Regions from separate parts of the Homo sapiens genome. Here regions 1, 2, 3, 4, 6 and 7 are each linked to region 5. Evidence: promoter capture Hi-C in 16 types of primary human blood cells and fetal thymus (Javierre and others, 2016). All regions are on one chromosome and are shown on one strand. The core of a region is centred on a gene start or on the middle of the fragment in contact, and the rest is flanking DNA. Distances in the headings are between cores, read along the strand shown.

Region 1 (3,155 bases), core at 654-3,153, 1.7 Mb before region 5:
ACAGACCCCTGAACCCAAAGACTCATGAATATTTTAATAACAAATTTCCCCCAGTAAAAATTTAAAAAAAAAATTTTTTTTTGACCCTTAAATGAGTCAAACTCTGTCTCTTTTATGTCCTTTCGTGGATCTCTCCTGAGTTCAGCTATGCAAACAGTCCCAATATCAGGAGAATCAGTGATCATTGTATTTCCCATTTTCCCAAGGAAACGTTGAACATTTACTGGAACCCTCCCAAAGTAACTAAACGTCCAAATAGTTACAAGAAGCTATCATGAAATATTTTCAGCCCCAGCTAATTTTATCAGAAAGGGCTGTTGTTCTAAGTATCCGTACTGCTGTTCTTGTGGAGAAATTCAAAAAGAACCTGTTGTTTCTCTTCTCATATAAAACAGATTTCCTCGTTAAATCTCAATGAAAATCAAGTAGTTGTTCAATGTATGAGAAGCCAAAAATGTGTAGGCTATTATTAGAAGACAGCAAACAATTGAAGACACGAATGGAAGAATTTATATTTTAAATGAAAATCAAGAAGTTGTCCCTCTGAACTGTGAATCTCTGAAAGTTGGAACTTTTGATAAAGGCCGAGGCTGCCTTAAGTAAAAACTAGAGAAAGAAAATGTAAAGATCATAACACCGTAGCCGTTCCAGTTCATTGTAGAATAGAATTGGTGTGATTCCTCCTCAGGAAATTTAAACTATTTTGATTTTCTGAATTTCCGCAAACACAACTCAGAAACAGGGTTGAGACTAGGTTGCTGCCAAGCTGAAAGACTGAGCTGGGAACCAATCAGCGCGCAGCGTGTCTGTGTGTGACACACACGTAATCACAGACACACTCGCAGCCTGACTTTTTTTTTTTTTAACTGTTAGATATCCAAACCTACAATCATGTCCGAAACTGTACATGCCGTGACTCCTGGTCTATCTCCCAAGTCAAAGACTGAAGTAAAGAAAAAGGTTGCAAGTCCGAAGTTGCAGTGAAGTGCAAGATGTCCAGGCCCCTCCGGTATGTGAGTTCATCACTAATGACTTAGCCGTCTCCAAGAAGCGCAGCGGCCTTCTCTGTGGCCGCGCTCAAGTAGGTGTTGGCGGCTACGATATGAAGATCGGCCCTTGCCGGTCGCGGTGGCCTACGTTTGTAATCTCAGCATTTTGTGAGGCCAAGGCGGGAGAATCTCTTAAGCTAAGGAGTTGTTTTTGGTGGTTTTGTTTGTCCTTGGGGATTTTTTTTTTTTTTTTGAAGGAGTCTAGCTCTGCTGCCCAGGCTGGAGTGCAGTGGTGTGATCTCGGTTCACTGCAACTTCCGCCTCCCGGGTTCAAGCCCTTCTCCTGCCTCAGCTTTCCATGTAGCTGGGACTGCAGGCGTGTGCCACCACACCCGGCTAATTTTTGTATTCTCAGTAGAGACGAAGTTTCAATGTGTTGGGCAGGCTGGTCTCGAACTCTTGGCATCACGTGATCCGCCCGCCTTGGCATCCTAAAGTGCTGTGATTACAGGCCTGAGCCACCTCGCCTGGCCAAGCTAAGGAGTTTTGAGGCCAGCCTGGGTAACACAGTGAGACCTCGTCCCTAAAAATAAATACAAATTTTTAAAAATTATTTGAATAAAGTTGGGCCTTGAAAACAAACGAGGGCATCTTCGTGCTAAGGAGTGCAGCGCCTCAGGTTCATTCCCGCCAAACCAGGCAGTGTTAGGAAAATCAAGACCGAGGCCAGAAAAGCCGCTGCAGTCATGCCCAAGACAGCTGTCCTGGCAGCCGAGAGGCCCAAGAAAGCTTGGGGCGTCCTTATTCCGAAAAAGAGTACTAAGCGGACCCCAAAAGCTTTTGCTGGTGGAGGCTGCTGGAGAAGGTTGGTTGGTCAAAGGTGGCCAAGAAAGTTCCCAAGCCGGAGGCATCCAAGCCTAAGAAAGCGGCCCCCAAAACAAGGAGATATAAGAGTACCTTAAAGGCTGTTTTAAGAACTCCCCAATTATAATAAAGCTTTTTGCACCAATTCCGTGAGGGGAGGGGGAACGGATAGAGGCAAGAATGCTTACTTACCTTGAGTGAACAGAGGTTCCAGTTTACGGACAGCAACAGTAAACAGCAACTTTTATAGAAAAGGTGGTTGGCTCTGAAAAGAGCCTTTGGGTTTTGGTTAGCACACATTCACAAGACAATTTACGCCCTCTCCCCACGAATGCGGCGAGCAAGCTGGATGTCCTTGGGCATGATAGTCACTCGCTTGGCGTGAATGGCGCATAGGTTGGTGTCCTCAAACAGCCCCACCAGGTAGGCCTCGCAGGCCTCCTGCAGCGCCATCACCGCCGAGCTCTGAAAACGCAGATCAGTCTTGAAGTCCTGCGCGATCTCACGGACTAGACGCTGGAATGGCAGTTTGCGAATCAGCAGCTCGGTCGACTTCTGGTAGCGGCGGATCTCGCGCAGAGCCACCGTGCCGGGCCGGTAACGGTGGGGCTTCTTCACGCCGCCGGTGGCTGGAGCGCTCTTTCGAGCAGCCTTGGTGGCCAGCTGCTTGCGTGGCGCTTTCCCACCCGTGGACTTGCGAGCAGTCTGCTTGGTACGAGCCATTGCGAACTTCTAAACCCTGCTAAATGACGAAAAAACGAAAGTCTAGCCTTTCGTACCCGTATATATAAAGACACCCCTGTTCTGATTGGACAAGGCAGCCTTTCCCCTGCAGCTCGATTGGTGGAGACGCCCACTCCCTGACAGAACATCTCCTGCATGTAGACCAAATATTAAAACTTTCCTCCGTCCATCTTTAACTGCTGGTGTTTTCAACCCTTTCCCCTCTGTGCCATGTTTCTAGCTTTTATTTAAAACGTACTTTGGTTTTCCTTGGCAAAATTGTGTCTAGCTACTAGGATGACGTGTCTTAATTTTTTTTTAAATGTTGGCGCTGAAACTGGCTTTGATCAACGTTTTAAAAAGACGCGCGCTAGTTGTGATTGGCCAAGTGATTTCTTTTTACCCTCTTAAGTTTAGAAAGGTTAATTTCATATCTTGATTTGTCTATTTAAACTTGGAGATATTTTCAATAATTTGTTCCAAATGCACCATGACTATTAACTCATAAGTAACAATATGAAACCTGATGTTAAGCTACATGAACACATTTAATTTCACCACAATATGTCATCCTCATAT
Region 2 (3,115 bases), core at 340-2,839, 1.8 Mb before region 5:
AAAGTTTGGGGGGAAGGGGAAACATTTTTATTCTATAATGCTGAAATTTCATTTTTCTTTTCTCTTTTTTAAGACCAAGTCTTGCTCTCTCACCAAGGCTAGAGTGCAGTGGCGTGATCTCAGTTCACTGCAACCTCCACCTCCCGGGTTCAAGCAATTCTCCTGCCTCAGCCTCCTGAGTAGCTGGGACTACAGGCACCATGCCCGGCTAGGATAACATTTTTTGTTTTTAGTAGAGATGGGGTTTCACCATGTTGGCCAGAGTAGTCTAGAACTCCTGACCTCAAGTGATCTGCCCGCCTCATCCTCCCGAAGTGCTGAGATTACAGGTGTGAGGTACAGCATCTGGCCTCATGCTGAGATTTCTTTCATTACCAGTTCAAACACCTTTCACTTTTCAAGGCACAAGGAGAGGAATTCCATGTGTTGACACTGGGAGGAAGGGTACAGACCTACTTAAAAGATTCAAAACTTCTATGACAGTAAAAGAAATGTATATCAAGTTCCTTAGGGCTGCCGTAACAAAGTACTATCAACTGGGTGGCTTAGAACAAAAGAAATTTATTCTCTCACAGTTACGTAGGCCAGTTGAGATCAAGGTATTATCAGGGCCAAGATCCCTCTGTAGCCTCTGGGGAAGGATTCTTTCTTGCCTGTTTCCACTTCTAGCAGCTTCCTGTGTTTGGTTTGTGGCAGCATAACTCCAATCTCTGCCTCCATCTCTACCTGGCCATCATCCCTCTGTGTCTGTGAGGACCCCAGTCATTGGTTGGAGGACTCACCCTATTCCACTATAATCTCTTCTTAACCAGTGAACTCACCGTATTCCAGATAAGGTCAGGTTCACAGCTACTGAGGGTTAGGACAGAGTATCTTTTGGGGAGATGCAATTCATCCCATAAGTGGGTGGAAAAGGATGATTAACAAGTGGTATGTGGGGATGTATTGTTTTGCATCTACGTAGCTCTCACCCCATTTCTTTCCACAACACACATTTGTCACTCTATTCTTTATTAGGTTTACAGAGAAAAGTAGATCTTCAACCACTTTCCTGGGATGTGGATACAGCTCTTTTTTTGGAGACAGGGTCTCATTCTGTCACCTAGACTGGTGTGCAGTAGCACTATCATGGCTGACTACAGCCTCAATGTCCCAGGCTTAAGTGATCTTCCCAACCTCCTGAGTGGCTGGGACCACAAGTGTGTGCCACCACACCTGACTAATTTTATTTTTTAATTGTTTTGTGAAGACAGCATCTCCCTATGTTTCCCAGGCTGGTCTTGAATTCCTGGGCTCAAGCCATCCTCCTGCCTCGGCCTCCCAAAGTGCTGGGATTACAGGCAAGAGCCTCCATGCCTGGCCTTCAACTCTTGACCTTATGAACACAGCCCTATACCAGTTCCCTTCATGCATGTGCCTATAAGCTAAACCCTTTCCCAAGTGTACATGAAAATCTGAACCCCAACAAATATGGCCTAATTCTAAATCTGACTTTCCCAGGAGTAATTTTTGTCATTTCCAGCTTACCAGCCTTTGTGAGTGTTGAATTTCAGCATTTCTGTTTGCTTGCAGCAGAAGGTGGAGCCAGGATAGGGTGGCTCAAGATTAGAGTTTCTTCCTTAACAGTTCAGTCAACTTTTTAATCTTGGATTTATAGCTTCCTACCTGCTCTCTTAAAGGTGAAATGATCTATTCACCTTCAGACCATTTGCCCTCGGGGTCTCACTGAGCAATCTATGGCTTAAGTCTTCTAAGTCTCTTAATGGCCAAATACAATGGACAATTTTCAGGTATATCTGACACCATTTCTCTGCAGCCTTTGGCACCTATAACCACTCCATGGCTTCCACAATGTGATTGGTCATTTCTTTTTTGTTTATATGACAAGTTTTTATTCTTCTTCTGCCTGTTAAATGCGCCTGACCCCCAGTGTTCTGATTTTCACTATTTTTCTTAAAAAAAAAAGTTTAAATGAAAAAAGTTTCTTATGAAAATATTAAAACATATACAAAAATAGAATAGACATTGATAATAGATCCTAAAATTCCTAGGGAAATTCAGCAGACTGAGAATAGCTAATATAGTCTTCCAAAAAAAGATCAAATTTGAAGTTGAGAAACTTCTTGAATTCAATTTACTAAAAAGCTATAGTAATCAAGACAGTGTAGTCCTGACATAAAGATAGGATTATAGTCTGGGTGTGGTGGCTCATGCCTGTAATCCCAGCACTTTGGGAGGCTGAGGTGGGCAGATCACCTGAGGTCAGGAGTTCCAGACCAGCCTGACCAACATGGTGAAACCCCGTCTCTACTAAAAATACAAAAATTAACCAGGCATGGTGGCAGGTACCTGTAATCCCAGCTGCTTGGGAGGCTGAGGCAGGAGAATTGCTTGAACCTGGGAGGAGGAGCCAGTGGCCGGGATTGGGCCACTGCACTCCAACCTGGGCAATAGAGTGAGGCTCTGTCAAAAAAAAAAAAAGATAGGATTATAGATTATAGCATAATGGGATAAAATTGAGACTCCAGAAATAAACTCTCACATTTATGGTAGATTGATTTTTGATAAGGGTGCCAAAACACTTCAATGAAAAAAGAGTCTTCTCAACAAGTGATGGTGGAACAACTGAATAACCACATTTTTGTTCTATCTGGGGCCCTGATTCAAAAACCCAGGCAAAGATGGAGAGAAATCAGAACTCTCATACACTGCTGATAGGAGGATAAAATGCTTACTTTGGAAAAGAATGTGGCAATTCCTCAAAAGGTTAAACAGTGTTACCATATGACCCAGCAAACCCACTTCTAGATATATAACCAAAAGAAATCAAAACATAAGTCTACAAAAAAACTTGTACATAAATGTTTATAACAGCACTATTCCCAATAGCCATAAAGTAGAAACAAACCAATGTCCATCGGCTGATGAATGAATAAATAAAATATGTTGTGGTATGTCCTTATAATAGATATTATTGGTCCATGAAAAACATACATAAAAACATTATGCTAAATGAAAGAAGCCAGTCACGGCAAAGCAATATATTATATGCCTCTATGTATACTAAATGTTCCAAATAGAAAGAAAGTAGATTAAAGATTGTCTAGGGCTGGGA
Region 3 (3,056 bases), core at 263-2,762, 1.7 Mb before region 5:
AGATAGGTAGACTACGTCTAACCCTTCATCTTAAAATCTTTACCTGGAAAAGACCATGAGTAAAATACTTAAGGGAATGTGGAATTTCCCAGGCCACAAAGCGGCCTGCAGTTGTCTAGGAAGGGAGAGTCCTCTAGGAGATACAGTGTATGTGCTAAGTTTAATGACGTCTCCTCTTCATTCTCCCCCACCCAGCGCCTAGTCCTTACTGGCCTTCAGTTCAGTGTTCGAAGGCTTGTCAATTTACCCAGCAGTTAAGAGTTGGCTTCTCCTAAAGCAACTTTCAAACTTGTCTGCATGTTACAAGCCCCCTACGGAGATTTTAAGTTTCAATCAGGCAACACACCATTTATGGCTGACTGAGCACTGGGATTCAAGCAAAATTTGATTTGATTTGAATCTTGAATAAACCAGTTGAATAGAATAAGATGTATGAAGCAACATCTGGCGCAGTGCTTACATCTTTAGTTCTGTACTGCCTTAGTGTTGTTATCAAAACTGACGCATATTAGGTTAAAAGACTATTACCGGGGCAGTTGGAAACCCAGGAGACACACCCTTCAGTATACTACGAAGGTGTGCGCCACGAAAACAGAGGGGGAGTCCTTCCTTAGGCAGTTACTGCCCAGGTTCCCACTCCGGTCCGCTATGTAAATCAGAGTCTCAAAACAGCTTTCCCTCGATTGGTTAATATTTAAAATGACAGGACAGCCTATTGGCTAGAAGCTGGTGGCGAAATTATGACATTACGGCAACCGTTGATCCTGGCGACGTAGACAGGGACAGACAGCTGGGTCTGAAACCTAAGCGAGCCTGCGGTTTCTTCCGGGAACGCCGAGTTAGCAAAATGGCCGCTTGTCTCCATTTTAAATTTAAGCACAACGAATTGACCCCAAAGCCATTTTTAATGGCTGGCTTCTTTCGGGTTCAGGACCCTTTGTCCCTCTCTAAGCTGCAACACTTGTCCCCACCCCTCTCCAGTTCCTATATTCTAATACCCCTCCGCCGCCAAATAAAATTTGGCGTCTGGCCACAGCTCTTTTAGTGGGTATCTGGGTGGCTCTTAAAAGAGCCTTTGGGGTTAGGTGTTAAGACGCTTACTTGGAATGTTTACTTGGAGCTGGTGTACTTGGTGACGGCCTTGGTGCCCTCCGACACGGCGTGCTTGGCCAGCTCTCCGGGAAGCAGCAGGCGCACGGCCGTCTGGATCTCCCTGGAGGTGATGGTCGAGCGCTTGTTGTAATGCGCCAGGCGGGAAGCCTCGCCCGCGATGCGCTCAAATATGTCGTTAACGAAAGAATTCATGATGCCCATGGCCTTGGAAGAGATGCCAGTGTCGGGATGGACCTGTTTCAGCACCTTGTACACGTACACAGAGTAACTCTCCTTGCGGCTGCGCTTGCGCTTCTTGCCATCTTTCTTCTGCGCTTTGGTCACTGCCTTCTTGGAGCCCTTCTTCGGGGCGGGAGCAGACTTGGCTGGCTCAGGCATCTTAAAACACCAGAAATGTGTCGAAAGTAAAGAGCGGATTTCTGCTACTTATAGGGCTTTTATGCTAATGAGGGATGGAGAGTACCTCTTAGTTAATTGGAAGACAAACTGCACAGTTGTCATCCGTGGGCAGAGCTATGCAAATGAGGTATGAAAGTACAGCTTTTCTATTGGCTATCTGACTAGCATTTGCTACCGACCAATCAAAAAGTCGGATTTACTCCCCAGGAACTACCTATAAAAGCGGCCATGTTTTACATATTTCTTGATTTTGTTTGTTTTCTCGTGAGCTTAGGCCGCTGGTTTTGGTGATTTTTGTCTGATTGCAATGTCTGGACGTGGTAAGCAAGGAGGCAAAGCTCGCGCCAAAGCGAAATCCCGCTCTTCTCGCGCTGGTCTCCAGTTCCCGGTGGGCCGAGTGCACCGCCTGCTCCGTAAAGGCAACTACGCAGAGCGGGTTGGGGCAGGCGCGCCGGTGTACCTGGCGGCGGTGTTAGAGTACCTGACCGCCGAGATCCTGGAGCTGGCCGGCAACGCGGCTCGCGACAACAAGAAGACTCGCATCATCCCGCGCCACTTGCAGCTGGCCATCCGCAACGACGAGGAGCTCAACAAACTGCTAGGCCGGGTGACCATTGCTCAGGGCGGCGTCCTTCCTAACATCCAGGCCGTGCTTCTGCCTAAGAAGACCGAGAGTCACCACAAGGCCAAGGGCAAGTGATTTGACAGGTATCTGAGCTCCCGGAAACGCTATCAAACCCAAAGGCTCTTTTCAGAGCCCCCCTACCGTTTCAAAGGAAGAGCTAACCTCACTGCTTGTAGGTAGAAGGAAAAAAGGCACTAAGGTAAGTTAATTTTATGCCAACCTTGAGCAAAGCGTATTACTGCTTTTCGGTTTTTGGGGAGCGCTGTTACTAAAGGTTGGTCTGTTTGTATGTAATAGTAGGTCAGTTACGTACTATCATACTCTAAAGAAATATTCTAGTTAATGCTTTGTAAGATCGACCATAGTTAGTGCCTAACAGTTTACATGCAGGGATGCCTCGTGATCTAAACACTTCGTTGTGATTACTTTAAAAATGTAAATTGAAGGCAAAACTCTAACGTGTTGGTAACCTTGTTTGGTCCTCCGACTAGTCCCCCGTCTATTTTTTTCTCAATTTAGGCTGTAGGCAGCCTCACTTTCCTAATTCTGTGAGAGTTATAGGTCCCATTCCTGCTAAAGTGCAGAGTATATTACCTAAAAGTTAACCAGGGAGTTGAAAGGTGTCTGTAAAACAGACTAATGTCCCTAATGTAGAACGGTGCCTGACATGCAACTTACTCTTGTATTTTAAGAAGCTCAAGCGTCTAGGTTGCCATTACAGGCAGAAAAGGAAATAGAGTGGGGCCTGTGGCCACTCAAAAACCTTTGCTTTCTGCTCACCCCTCTAATCCTACCACTTTGGGAGGCCGAGGGGGCTGATCACCTGAGGTCACGACTTCGACACTAACCTGGCCAACATGGTGAAACACCTCTCTACTAAATAAAAATAATAAATAAAAAAATAAGTTGGGCGTGGTGG
Region 4 (2,758 bases), core at 84-2,583, 1.7 Mb before region 5:
ATTCTTTTGGTTGGGCTTTCATTGCCAGCTTACATACACTCTTCTTGATTGGGCAACTACCTAAAGAAATTCACTCAGACATTGTTCAAAGGATGTTTTCAGAGGGCAATGATTTATAATAGCTTAGATAGACTCTCAAAGCTCTACTTCTGAGATCGAAATTTGAACTTGTCGTTTAATCACTACATGTCACTTATTTTTCTTTCTATTGAGCTCTGGGAAGCATTGGAATACAATCTTCAGGGGGATTGAAACCATACGTGGTGAGTGGACTAGTCATTCCTCAACTATTCAGTAATAATAGGGGCTGGGTTTCACTAATAATGGGAGTAGATGTTTCAATCTACGTTTCTTATTTATTTTGCCTTATCATCAATGCTTGAATTTCAGCTCTAAGCTACTTTATTGCAATTTGGTTCTGAAGCATATGCCAAAAGCACTCAGCAAGGCTGCAGACAAATGCTTTAAAGTAAAGTGCACCTCCACTTCCAGTGACTTTATGAACATCACATTTGAAAATTAATCCTTTTTCATCTCTGTACCCTGAGTACATTTTGGACTTCCCTTCGTTCCCAAATACCCTGAATTCAAGGTATCTCAATCCATGGAGCAATTGTCCAGAGGAAGAGAGAAGCAACAGCCCCGCCCCCAACCCTTGGGAGCAGAAAGGGAAAGAATTATCCAAAGAATTGTTTAAAAACTCAGATGTAGCGGACAGATGTAAAACCATGGCTGTATAGATTGATGTCCCAGGGGTCCAAAACTTAATCTCAAATGGGCAATAATTTGTTTGGCATTAAACTAAACCAGTTTGATGAACTCAAATGCCCTCGGCTCAATAGGCAGGACTCTCCGAGGAGCCTGTGTTACTTCCCTCACTTAAGTGCAGATTTGTAATAAAAATCTTAATGCCAGTGGCATGCTTTTTGGATATATAAGAAGCTAACCACTTGGAGTATCATATTTGAGAGGTCAGAAAAGTCCACAGTTAAAGATCGGTTTATAATTTACGAAGAAAATAGAAAGTTTTGTTTCTCTGAGTTGAAATTTGCCAAGCACGGCGGGAAATATTGCAAGTTTTTGGCACAAGGCTTTGTGCTTCCCTTATAATTTGAGATCTGCGTGAAGCCTGAGGGTTCGGGGATCATTATCTGAGAAAAACCGGGCAGTTCGGTGTAGACAATTTTTATATTTTTGGCTTTTTTTGAGGTGTAACAAACACAACTCGGGATCCGAGAGGACACTCTGCGGCTGCCAGCGAGGCGGGCTGGACAGCGCACCAATCACGGCGCAGCTCCGCCCTATATAAACGGGCGGGCGCAGCGCCGCGGCTCGAGTCCCGGCCAGTGCCTCTGCTTCCGGCTCGAATTGCTCTCGCTCACGCTTGCCTTCAACATGTCCGAGACTGCGCCTGCCGCGCCCGCTGCTCCGGCCCCTGCCGAGAAGACTCCCGTGAAGAAGAAGGCCCGCAAGTCTGCAGGTGCGGCCAAGCGCAAAGCGTCTGGGCCCCCGGTGTCCGAGCTCATTACTAAAGCTGTTGCCGCCTCCAAGGAGCGCAGCGGCGTATCTTTGGCCGCTCTCAAGAAAGCGCTGGCAGCCGCTGGCTATGACGTGGAGAAGAACAACAGCCGCATCAAGCTGGGTCTCAAGAGCCTGGTGAGCAAGGGCACCCTGGTGCAGACCAAGGGCACCGGCGCGTCGGGTTCCTTCAAACTCAACAAGAAGGCGGCCTCTGGGGAAGCCAAGCCTAAGGCTAAAAAGGCAGGCGCGGCCAAGGCCAAGAAGCCAGCAGGAGCGGCGAAGAAGCCCAAGAAGGCGACGGGGGCGGCCACCCCCAAGAAGAGCGCCAAGAAGACCCCAAAGAAGGCGAAGAAGCCGGCTGCAGCTGCTGGAGCCAAAAAAGCGAAAAGCCCGAAAAAGGCGAAAGCAGCCAAGCCAAAAAAGGCGCCCAAGAGCCCAGCGAAGGCCAAAGCAGTTAAACCCAAGGCGGCTAAACCAAAGACCGCCAAGCCCAAGGCAGCCAAGCCAAAGAAGGCGGCAGCCAAGAAAAAGTAGAAAGTTCCTTTGGCCAACTGCTTAGAAGCCCAACACAACCCAAAGGCTCTTTTCAGAGCCACCCACCGCTCTCAGTAAAAGAGCTGTTGCACTATTAGGGGGCGTGGCTCGGGAAAACGCTGCTAAGCAGGGGCGGGTCTCCCGGGAACAAAGTCGGGGAGAGGAGTGGGATTTTGTGTGTCTCCGGAGCTATTTTTGACTAAGGCGTCGCGTCGCCCAAGCCGGAGTGCAGTGGCGTCATCTCGATTTTGCGTTCTCGAGTGTCGGAGTTGAACCCATTTGGGCCTCCCTTGTGCTTTGCACTTTTAGCAGGCCCTGGCCTCCAGATAGCATGGGAAAAAAAATGTTGGGATTTTCCCGGGTTTCTAAGCTGGGTTTTTCCGAGTTCCAAACACGGCACAGTGTATCAGTTTCTGTGCTGGTTACAAGCCTACTGGTTATCCCTATCGAGTATGGCAGGCAGTGAGGGACTTCAGAGGAGTACGTCTTAGGACAAGTGGCATAGTACTGACATTATTTCCGAAGGGCTACATTTCAAGTGCTTGGGGAGACTACTGCCACATAACTGAAAATTAGAAACCGACACTGCAGAAAAATACTTGGTCCTTAAATGTGGCATTTGGATGGATTAAGGACTTGCCGAAACGTAAAACTGACAGACTTGGGGGGGGGGGATGTCCCAATTAGCACGGCTTCTGTATGC
Region 5 (2,978 bases), core at 26-2,525:
CCAGTACAGAATGACACGGTCATATCAAATTGGCATGTAATAGAGACCCCATCTTGAAACTTGCTACTATATTGTCTTGTGCGTTGATAGCATATTATATTAATGCCGAACACATTAGTGACGCCGAAGTAGCTGGTGCCTAAATGGCTTAAACGCGGAAAAACCACATACAGATGATGGAACAAAAACTGGCCAATCAGATTATAGAGCGGGCTTTTTAAAATATAAGAAGCTTCTTTGTAGCTAGGCGTCTGACAAAAAGCTTGACACCAACTTAACAAAAACCAACGGCTGGAATTCATACTCTAATAACAGACTGCATGGGTAAACTACGTGGGGAGTCCAACCAACACCCTGGACTCTTGCTTGCCTTGCGTTACTCGATTAGGGTTGAGGGAGAACTGCCCGAGATTTTTCGAATGCAAGGAATCTTGCTGCCTGATCTAACATGTTGTGCACAGCCATTTTTTAGAGGTCTCTGGGTGGCTCTGAAAAGAGCCTTTGGGGCTTTGTTGCGGTTTTCACACGCCAGCTTCCTACTTCTTTTTGGCAGCCGCCTTCTTGGCCTTTGCAGCTTTAGGTTTTGCTGCTTTGGGCTTAGCGGCTTTGGGCTTTGCCGCCTTCGGCTTAACTGCCTTGGGCTTGGCAGGACTCTTGGTTGCCTTTTTCGGTTTGGCAGCGGCCTTGGCCTTCTTAGGGCTCTTCGCCACCTTTTTGACGCCAGCCGCCGCGGGCTTCTTCGCCTTCTTCGGAGTCTTCTTCACTGCCTTTTTCGCCCCTGCAGCCTTCTTGGCCTTCTTAGGCGTGGCCCCCGCGGGCTTCTTAGCTTTAGCGGCGCCTGCCTTCTTGGCTTTGGGCTTGGCTTCCCCGGAGGCCGCCTTCTTGTTGAGTTTAAAGGAGCCAGAAGCACCAGTGCCCTTGGTCTGCACCAGGGTGCCCTTGCTCACCAAGCTCTTGAGGCCCAGCTTAATGCGGCTGTTATTCTTCTCCACGTCGTAGCCACCGGCCGCTAAGGCCTTCTTAAGGGCTGCCAAAGAAAGGCCATTGCGCTCCTTAGAAGCAGCCACAGCCTTGGTGATCAGCTCTGAGACTGGGGGCCCCGTCGCTTTGCGCTTAGCAGCGCCGGCGCCGGCAGCCTTCTTAGTTGCCTTCTTCTTAGCCGGGGATTTCTCCACCGGCGCTGGGGTGGCTGTCTCGGCAGGAGCGGTTTCCGACATGGTGGCAAGAAACTGCTAGAAGAGAATAAGCTCGAAATCTAAAGAGCAGGTTTTGCGTTGCTGCTATGCTCGGGCCCCGGGCTTATATAAGCCGGCGCTGCCCTGTGATTGGTGGAGCGTCCAATCCACCGCCCTCTGGCCGCCGCCGCTCGCGGTTGGACTCCCAAATTGTGTTTGTTAGTCCTCAAAATTTGATTAAATGCTTAAAACAATGGTACAGAATTTGGCACTTTGAAGCTCCAAAGGAGGAAAACAGCCTCCAGGTTCACATACTTGTTTGTGTTTTCAAGAATCTTGTGCAATTGATGAAAGATATTTTAAAAAATCCCTTCAGCTTTTCATAAGAATCCATTGGGCTGAGGGCATCATGTTAGTTAGTAGCGTGTCGCGATAAATTTCTACTAAGTATCCAGTGAAAGTTATTTTTAAAAATTTGCCCATGAGTTCATGCTTTGATTTTTGCAAGAGAAAAGACACTGGGTTCCTTGGTTTGGGCATGAAGTTTGTTTCTAACTGTAGCAAGTAACACAGGCACAGGACAGCTGGTTGCCTACAGCCCCAACTTAACCACATAGACTTGACTTTACAAACTGGTTCTGTGTCCTAGGAGTTTCCATGTGCTAATGTCTTTACAGAATGGGATTTTGCAGCTTGGAAGAGTTCCACAGTCAGAGTGACTTCTTCTGCATTGCAGCACCAGTAATACAAATCGCTTTGACTTAAGGATCTAACTACTCAGATTCACATTCAAACTTAAATGTGTTATGTTTTCTAATTAGAGTGTTTTCTCTTTTTAGTTCCTGGGCAAATCCATTAAAAAAGGGGAAGAAAAATAATATAGATAATTCAGTTTAGAGAAAACTCAAACTTGTGGAAAATTATTCAAGAGCTCCCAGTGATCCTCAAATGCACAAACTGTTTAGGTGGCCCAGGACACTGTCAGGTTTTCGAAATGTTCTCACTGCTCCCCCTGAATCTCCACCCACATTTAACAAGCTGCACCATCAGGAATACTCTCTTCTATGAGCAGCCAGGATACATCAATATGGGTATTTTTGTGTGTTTTAGCGCTAATATTTTAGAAGAATATCTGGCTATTGACTGTGAAAAGGTTGGATTGGATATTGAGCGACTTCACATTATAGAGGTTCAGAGGAACTCAGGAAAACATAGGCAAATACACTGAGGTTGAAATAAATGAAGTTTACAATTTATGGGAGGTGGAGGGGATTGGACAGGATGCCTGGATGATAAAAATGATCAAATGATGATTTGGATTCCTAATGAAATCAACAGTCACTTATTTCTCATTCTTGAAATGCTGTGCAAGAAAATTTAAAGTAGCCAATGCACTTCATCTTCTAAGAACTCCTGGAGAAGTTGGCAGACTATGGCCAAATCTGGACAATGGCTTTTTTCTGTATGGCCCTCAAGCTAAGAAGTGTCTTTATGTTTTAAAAGTATTGTTAAAAAAAAAAAAAACAAAAACAAAGGCTGGGCACGGTGGTTCATGTCTGTAATCTCAGCACTTGGGGACACTGGGATAGGTGGGTTGCTTGAGCTCAGGAGTTGGAGACCAGCTTGGGCAACTTGGTAAAACCCCATCTTTAATAAAAATACAAAACATTTTGCTGGATGTGGTGGCACATGCCTGTAGTCTCAGCTACTCGGGAGGCTGAGGTGGGAGGATCACTTGAATTCAGGGTGTCAAGGCTGCAGTGAGCAATGATAGCAGCACTGCACTCCAGCCAGGGCAATGGA
Region 6 (3,012 bases), core at 26-2,525, 1.7 Mb before region 5:
GTTAAAAACTGGTTAGCTTATGCTAAGCTGCCATTTGAAAGGTCTCCTCCAGCATCTGAATTAAGGGAAACAATGTTTTGAAGCAGTCACAAAACTTTTCTGATGCATTAGATCTGAGGTAGGACCTGATAATTTGTACTTCTAAATTATGCAGGTGATGCTGATGCTGCTGGTCCGGAGACCACTTTGGAGAGTTTTACTTTAAAGGAAATGAAACTGCCCTAAAATGCTAATACTAAATAGCCACACAAAGCCGGAAAAAAGCAAAGAATTTCAAACCGAAGATGAGAGGTCCTGAAAAATAACAGCGGTCATCCTACTCCCGGTGCGGCTATGCGGCCATGAAAAGGAGTCTTGGGGCCGGTCGTGCCCCTCCACGCAGGCTCCCTCATAGGGTCATCCCATCAACCCTCGCCAAAAACGCCGGCCCCCTCATAGGGCCGTCCGGCCACGCCCCTCCGTGCCCTAACCACAGAGCCACACGTTACGCCGCCGCCCCGTTACGCCCATCCGGCTCCCGCATAGGGCGTCACGTACGTTTAACGTCGGCCCGGCGCGCGCGTCCGGGAGGTTGCCCGTAGGCCGCTAACTGGTGGTTCCCAGTCCCCGCCGACTCGGCCTCTTTCTTCTGCGGCCACCAGATCGCGGGATATCGGAGACTTCGAACAATCCGCTGGAGTCCTTTACAGTTTAAAAACAGAGGACCGGCCGGGCGCGGTGGCTCACGCCTGTAATCCCAGCACTTTGGGAGGCCGAGGCGGGCGGATCACGAGTTCAGGAGATAGAGACCATCCTGGCTAACACCGTGAGACCCCGTCCCTATCAAAAGTACAAAAAAATTAGCCGGGTGTGGTGGCACGCGCCTGTAGTCCCAGCTACTCAGGAGGCTGAGGCAGAAGAATCGCTAGAACCAGGGAGGCGGAGGTTGCAGTGACCGAGATCGCGCCGCTGCACTCCAGCCTAGGCGACAGAGCGAGACTGCGTCTCAAAACAAAAAAAACGGAGGATCGAAAATTTTGAAGACTGAGAGCAAGGCAACAATCTTCCCTTGACCTTTTTGCTCCTCTCACAAGGGTTTTTCAGACGGCTGAAACCAACGAAAAGAGTGAGGAAGCAGGCAGAAAATTTCAGCTTTAGTCTCTCAGCATCCTCCTGCTTTCTTCTCGGGGAGCTGGCACTTCCCCCTTCTCTAGTAGCTGTAAATACGCCTCCCAACTCCAAGGAGACCTTTCTTGCATCTCCCTTACTGTTCTCACGCCTGTAGGGCTCTTCGTGTGAGGATTCAGTGTATGTATGTATGTATATGAATGTGTGCGAATAATTATTTCCTAATTGAGTTTTTTTTTAAAAAAATCATCTTCCGGTACACGCAGTGCCGTACTCCATTAAACAGCAGGCACGGTGTCTAGGGTCCGCAGTTCTTTTGGAGGCTCATGAAAATATTTTAATTTCTTCTAAAGTCAGAAGGAAAAAAATGAACATTTAAGTCGAAGAAGATGTTACATATTAATCTTCATATGACTTTAATTTTTTTTTTTTTTTTTTTGAAACGGAGTCTCGCTCTGTCCCCCAGGCTGGAGTACAGTGGCGCAGTCTCGGCTCACTGCAAGCTCTGCCTCCCGGGTTCACGCCATTCTCCTGCCTCAGCTTCCCGAGTAGCTGGGACTACAGTCACCACGCCCGACTAAGTTTTTTTGTATTTTTTAGTAGAGACGGGGTTTCACCGTGTTAGCCAGGATGGTCTCGATCTCCTGACCTCGTGATCCGCCCGCCTCGGCCTCCCAAAGTGCTGGGATTACAGGCGTGAGCCACAACGCCTGGCCTATGCCCACTAATTCCAATTCTTATTTGATCTAATTGTTTATAGATTCTTGTGAACTTTTACCTTGACAATTATGTTATTTTCAAAGATAATCATCTTTTCCTATTGAATCCTTGCTCTTCTGACTGCCTGTTCCTATCTCATGGTATTGGCCAAACCCTGTGATGCCGTGTTGAATAGGAGTACTTTCTCACCACACTTGTCTTCCTTCCGCCTCTATGGGAATCCTTCCAAAACGGCACCATTAAGTGTTATACTCGCTGTAGCTCCTCCTTATGAAGTTCTCTTCTCATTGTAGTCTGTTAAGTGTTTATGATTAAAGAGTGTTATATTTTGTTAAATGCTTTCGCAGTATCTTTGGAGATGATCATGTTTTTTCTTTATTAATCTCTTTTTTATTTTATTTATTTTATTTTATTTTATTTTATTTTTTATTATTTTAGTTTTTATTTTGAGATGGAATCTCACTCTGTCTCCCAGGCTGGAGTGCAGTGCCCTGATCTAAGCTCATTACAACCTCTACCTCCCAGGTTCAAGCGATTCTTCTGCCTCACTTTCCCAAGTAACAGGGACTACAGGTGCGTGCCACCACATCTGGCTAAGTTTTGTATTATCAGAAGAAGATAGGCCGCCATTGGCCAGGCTGGCCTTGAACTCCTGACATTAAGTGATCCACCTGCCTCAGCCTCCTAAAGTGCTAGGAATACAGGCGTGAGCCACTGCTCTGGGCCTTCCTTTATTAATTTCTTAAACTGGCAGATTTAGAATACTAAACTTCCTTCTATTCTTAGAATAAACCCTATATAATCAGCTATTTATTTAAATAACATGGTCTCTGCAATTTCTCCTGGTTTCCATTTTTTCTCATAATAGGCATTTTTTTCTAAAAAACAAAAATGAATGTTCATTAGTGAGACAAAACTATAATTTTGTTTTTTTCTTCTTTCTCTCTTCCTTCCTTTTTAAAATTTGTATTCTCCAGTTTTGCTAATAATGTTATACAATTTTACAAGAAAAAAGTGAGTAGGAGAGCTGTTTTTCTATAGTAACAGATTCTGTGAAATAGGTATCATGCCAAGTGAGGTGGCACGTCCCTGTAGTCCCAGCTACTCAGGAGGTGAAGCAGAAGGACCACTTGAGCCCAGGAATTGGAGACTGTAGTGTGCTGCCATCATGCCTGTGTATAGCTT
Region 7 (3,038 bases), core at 475-2,974, 1.8 Mb before region 5:
TTAAATATATATATCTACATGTACAGATCCTTTAAATATTTGTTCTGACATTCATTGTTTTTGAGTCACTGTCATTGAGAAAAGTTTAGAAAGGAGATATTAGGAGCAGGAAATAGAAAGTAAATAAAATATCAAAATAAAAATGGGGTTTTATAAATGATATAATAGGCAAAATAAAGGAAAGGCATCCTAGACCTCTGGTTAAAATGAAGATGGCACTTGGCGAGATGTGTTCCAGGGTAGTTCACATGATGTATGTTTTCAGAGAATTGTCATATTGCATATGCTGCTATATTTTTTATTTTCATGAATTAAAAGGCATGTTGAGATTTCAGAGTTTTACTTATGATCTCAGACTCTGCATTTTTTCTCTGTAATGTTTGACATTTCTTCCTAGCTAAGTCTCTAGTTATAAGGTCTGTGTTGTGGCATGTGGACAGTGAGTGGAAGAACCTAAGAACTCAATTTGGGGCAGAAGAATGTAATCAATTATTTCAGAAGTGATACAAACAATATGACATGTAGAGCATTCTGGCCTTTCCTGGGTCTTTTTTCTCCATTCCTGGATTTCTTCTCTTCATGTGAGCAAGTCTGAGGTTACTATATAATGTCTCTCACAGGCCACAGCCCCATTCTAAATATTCCCAATAGAAATTCATTTATTAACCAGAGAGTGGTGGGTGGGGTTGTTTTTGTTTTTTAAACAAAAGTGGATCTTATGGGCATTCTGGAAAGCTCCCGCAGGAAGCTAAGAATAAAATTTTGAATTGAGAAGTCCCTTTCTTCAAACCACATTCAGACCCAATTCTGCTATTCTATTTATTTTTCAAGGGGATTAGCCTTATTTTAACACCAATAATCTTATCACAAAAACCTCCCAGAGGAAGACCCTGTAGATTTTGTAATGACCTTAATCAAGTATTAGCCCTACACTTCAATTAATCCCCAACTGTACAAAACGAATGTTCTTTTCTCTAAAGCTGTAGCAAGTTGAAAGGGGATTAAAAACGGAGGGAAGGGAAGAGTGTTTGGAATTTCAGGCACAGCAAACAGGCACAGCAGACCAGGAAGAGCGTCCCGGGAAAACATATTATCCAGACTTAAGTTTATATTCCCTGTCTCTCTCAGACTTTTGCAGAAAAATGAGTCATTCAACAAATATTTGAATCGAGATAGGGAAAGTGACGAGGAAGAAGTTTGCACTTATGAGGTTTTAATTTGCAATTATTTGGCTACCTTTTTGCCTTCCCAAAACATAGGGTCTTTAGGAGTGAAACTTCATAGCCAAACTTATACCTTGTCCAGCACAGAGAAGGCCATCAAAATGCCTGGTTTAAATAAAAATATTAAAATGATTGGGAGGGTAAATCCCTTGACCTATAAATCTGACCTCCTTTAAACATTATTTGTATGTTCCCCAATAAACTATTCCGTAATTTATTAGTTAGCAAGTGGAAATAAAAAGAAATGTGGAATGGGGCTATGCTTAGCGTCATTAAGCTGACAGGAATACAGCGCATTCAACTTGCAAACACCCTTCCACTCCCACAAAGAGCAAGCTGTCACTGGCCAATCAAAACAATGAACCATAATGAAACAGTTTTTCTTGCTCCACCCACTTGGTGACCAAATTTGAAAAAAAAAAAAAACCGCGCCAACTCATGTTGTTTTCAATCAGGTCCGCCAAGTTTGTATTTAAGGAACTGTTTCAGTTCATACCTTCCACTGCGATAGGAATCATGTCTGGTCGCGGCAAAGGCGGAAAAGGCTTGGGGAAGGGTGGTGCTAAGCGCCATCGTAAGGTGCTCCGGGATAACATCCAGGGCATTACAAAACCGGCTATTCGCCGTTTGGCTCGGCGCGGTGGCGTCAAGCGCATTTCCGGTCTTATCTATGAGGAGACTCGAGGTGTGCTTAAGGTTTTCTTAGAGAACGTTATTCGAGACGCCGTCACCTATACGGAGCACGCCAAGCGCAAAACTGTCACAGCCATGGATGTAGTATATGCCCTAAAACGTCAGGGGCGCACTCTGTATGGCTTCGGCGGCTGAATCTAAGAATACGCGGTCTCCTGAGAACTTCAAAAAACAAAAACAAAAAAACCCAAAGGCCCTTTTCAGGGCCGCTCACAAAGTCGTTTAAAGAGCTGAAATGCGTTGCGAGAATGAGTTTGGATGACAGAAATAACCGTGACATCCTGCATAAGAATGAATTGTGTTTGCCATGACCGGCCACACTGTGACAAAATTTCAAAGCATAAAGTAGGCATAGAGAGGTAAGCGCTAATAAAGTGATTGGCTCCACAAAAAGCATTTTGCTGGGCGCAGTGGCTCACGACTGTAATCCCAGCACTTTGGGAGGCCAAAGCTAGTGTATCACTTGAGATCAAGAATCCGAGACCAGCCTGGCCAAAATGGTGAAACCCCCTCTACCAAAAAAAATACAAAACTTAGCCGGGCGTGGTGGTCTGCACCTGTAGGCCCAGCTAGCCCGGAAGCAGAGATTGCAGTGAGCCGAGATCGCGCCACTCCCCTCCAGCCTGGGAGACAGAGAGAGACTCCTCAAAAAAAAAAAAAAAAAAAAAAAAAAAAATTATGTATTTTAGAGCATTCTAAGAATGGTACTTTGGACTTAACCGAAGGGCTGGAGGCGCGTGTTGAACAAAGGTTATCACCTTTTGGCTCATGCGGCACACAGCTATGTAAATAAAGCATCTTTAGGGACAAGCTCTCATTTGCGGAGGGTTCTATGGCTGTTGTCCTATTGGCCAAAACAAAGTGGTCTAAGTCCGGGCGCGGTGGCTCACGCCTGTATTCCCAGCAGTTTGGTAGGCCAAGGTGGGTGGATCACGAGGTCTGGCGTTCAAGACCAGCCTGGCCAAGATGGTGAAACCCCGTCTACTAAAAATACAAAAATTAGCCGGGCGTGGTGGCGGGCACCTGTAATCCCAGCTACGTGGGAGGCTGAGCCAGAGAACTGCTTGAACCCAGGAGGCAGAGGTTGCAGTGAACCGAGATTGTGCCACTGCACTCTAGCCT

What was found. Contacts are between HindIII fragments. The CHiCAGO score rates a contact against its expected background, and 5 or more counts as called.
Region 1: a contact is called between a fragment that was not itself captured here and the fragment with the promoter of H1-5 in region 5, in 17 of 17 cell types (fetal thymus, M0 macrophages, erythroblasts and 14 more). The highest score is 34.8, in fetal thymus.
Region 2: a contact is called between a fragment that was not itself captured here and the fragment with the promoter of H1-5 in region 5, in 4 of 17 cell types (monocytes, fetal thymus, total B cells and 1 more). The highest score is 8.2, in monocytes.
Region 3: the fragment with the promoter of H2BC4 here is called in contact with the fragment with the promoter of H1-5 in region 5 in 15 of 17 cell types (activated CD4 T cells, neutrophils, M0 macrophages and 12 more); the score reaches 21.3 in activated CD4 T cells.
Region 4: a contact is called between the fragment with the promoter of H1-4 here and the fragment with the promoter of H1-5 in region 5, in 14 of 17 cell types (non-activated CD4 T cells, fetal thymus, total B cells and 11 more). The highest score is 13.3, in non-activated CD4 T cells.
Region 6: a contact is called between the fragment with the promoter of H2BC6-AS1 here and the fragment with the promoter of H1-5 in region 5, in 15 of 17 cell types (erythroblasts, M0 macrophages, total B cells and 12 more). The highest score is 19.1, in erythroblasts.
Region 7: the fragment with the promoter of H4C3 here is called in contact with the fragment with the promoter of H1-5 in region 5 in 17 of 17 cell types (M0 macrophages, activated CD4 T cells, erythroblasts and 14 more); the score reaches 18.9 in M0 macrophages.

What each region holds. Positions count from the first base shown.
Region 1 is chr6:26,194,675-26,197,829 of GRCh38, forward strand. H3C4 (H3 clustered histone 4) reads right to left here and starts at 2,612. Exons shown (of 1, transcript NM_001376937.1): 1 at 2,110-2,612. The coding sequence starts at 2,576. The coding sequence ends at 2,166. It also overlaps the pseudogene H1-12P. RefSeq lists enhancers at 943-992, 1,739-2,340, 1,853-1,962, 2,341-2,941. The HindIII fragment of the contact is 159 bases long and covers 1,825-1,983 here.
Region 2 is chr6:26,082,058-26,085,172 of GRCh38, forward strand. No RefSeq gene overlaps it. Among named protein-coding and RNA genes, the nearest start is that of HFE, 3.8 kb to the right of the region's middle. The HindIII fragment of the contact is 4,963 bases long and covers 1-3,115 here.
Region 3 is chr6:26,122,414-26,125,469 of GRCh38, forward strand. It overlaps H2BC4 (H2B clustered histone 4), which reads right to left and starts at 1,513. Exons shown (of 1, transcript NM_003526.3): 1 at 1,054-1,513. The coding sequence starts at 1,491. The coding sequence ends at 1,111. It overlaps H2AC6 (H2A clustered histone 6), which reads left to right and starts at 1,759. Exons shown (of 1, transcript NM_003512.4): 1 at 1,759-2,277. The coding sequence starts at 1,820. The coding sequence ends at 2,212. RefSeq lists enhancers at 1-304, 305-990, 438-1,637, 686-1,425, 1,669-2,868 and 4 more and a silencer at 1,297-1,662. The HindIII fragment of the contact is 15,442 bases long and covers 1-3,056 here.
Region 4 is chr6:26,154,996-26,157,753 of GRCh38, forward strand. It overlaps H1-4 (H1.4 linker histone, cluster member), which reads left to right and starts at 1,334. Exons shown (of 1, transcript NM_005321.3): 1 at 1,334-2,120. The coding sequence starts at 1,396. The coding sequence ends at 2,055. RefSeq lists enhancers at 1,062-1,813, 1,338-1,497, 1,758-1,837, 2,567-2,758 and a silencer at 2,128-2,177. The HindIII fragment of the contact is 19,818 bases long and covers 1-2,758 here.
Region 5 is chr6:27,866,313-27,869,290 of GRCh38, forward strand. H1-5 (H1.5 linker histone, cluster member) reads right to left here and starts at 1,276. Exons shown (of 1, transcript NM_005322.3): 1 at 480-1,276. The coding sequence starts at 1,217. The coding sequence ends at 537. RefSeq lists enhancers at 1,096-1,205, 1,466-1,535. The HindIII fragment of the contact is 3,270 bases long and covers 261-2,978 here.
Region 6 is chr6:26,171,498-26,174,509 of GRCh38, forward strand. It overlaps H2BC6-AS1 (H2BC6 antisense RNA 1), which reads right to left and starts at 1,276. Exons shown (of 3, transcript NR_186648.1): 1 at 538-1,276. RefSeq lists an enhancer at 350-1,242. The HindIII fragment of the contact is 22,011 bases long and covers 1-3,012 here.
Region 7 is chr6:26,102,209-26,105,246 of GRCh38, forward strand. H4C3 (H4 clustered histone 3) reads left to right here and starts at 1,725. Exons shown (of 1, transcript NM_003542.4): 1 at 1,725-2,129. The coding sequence starts at 1,740. The coding sequence ends at 2,051. RefSeq lists enhancers at 1,263-1,372, 1,397-2,087. The HindIII fragment of the contact is 10,429 bases long and covers 1-3,038 here.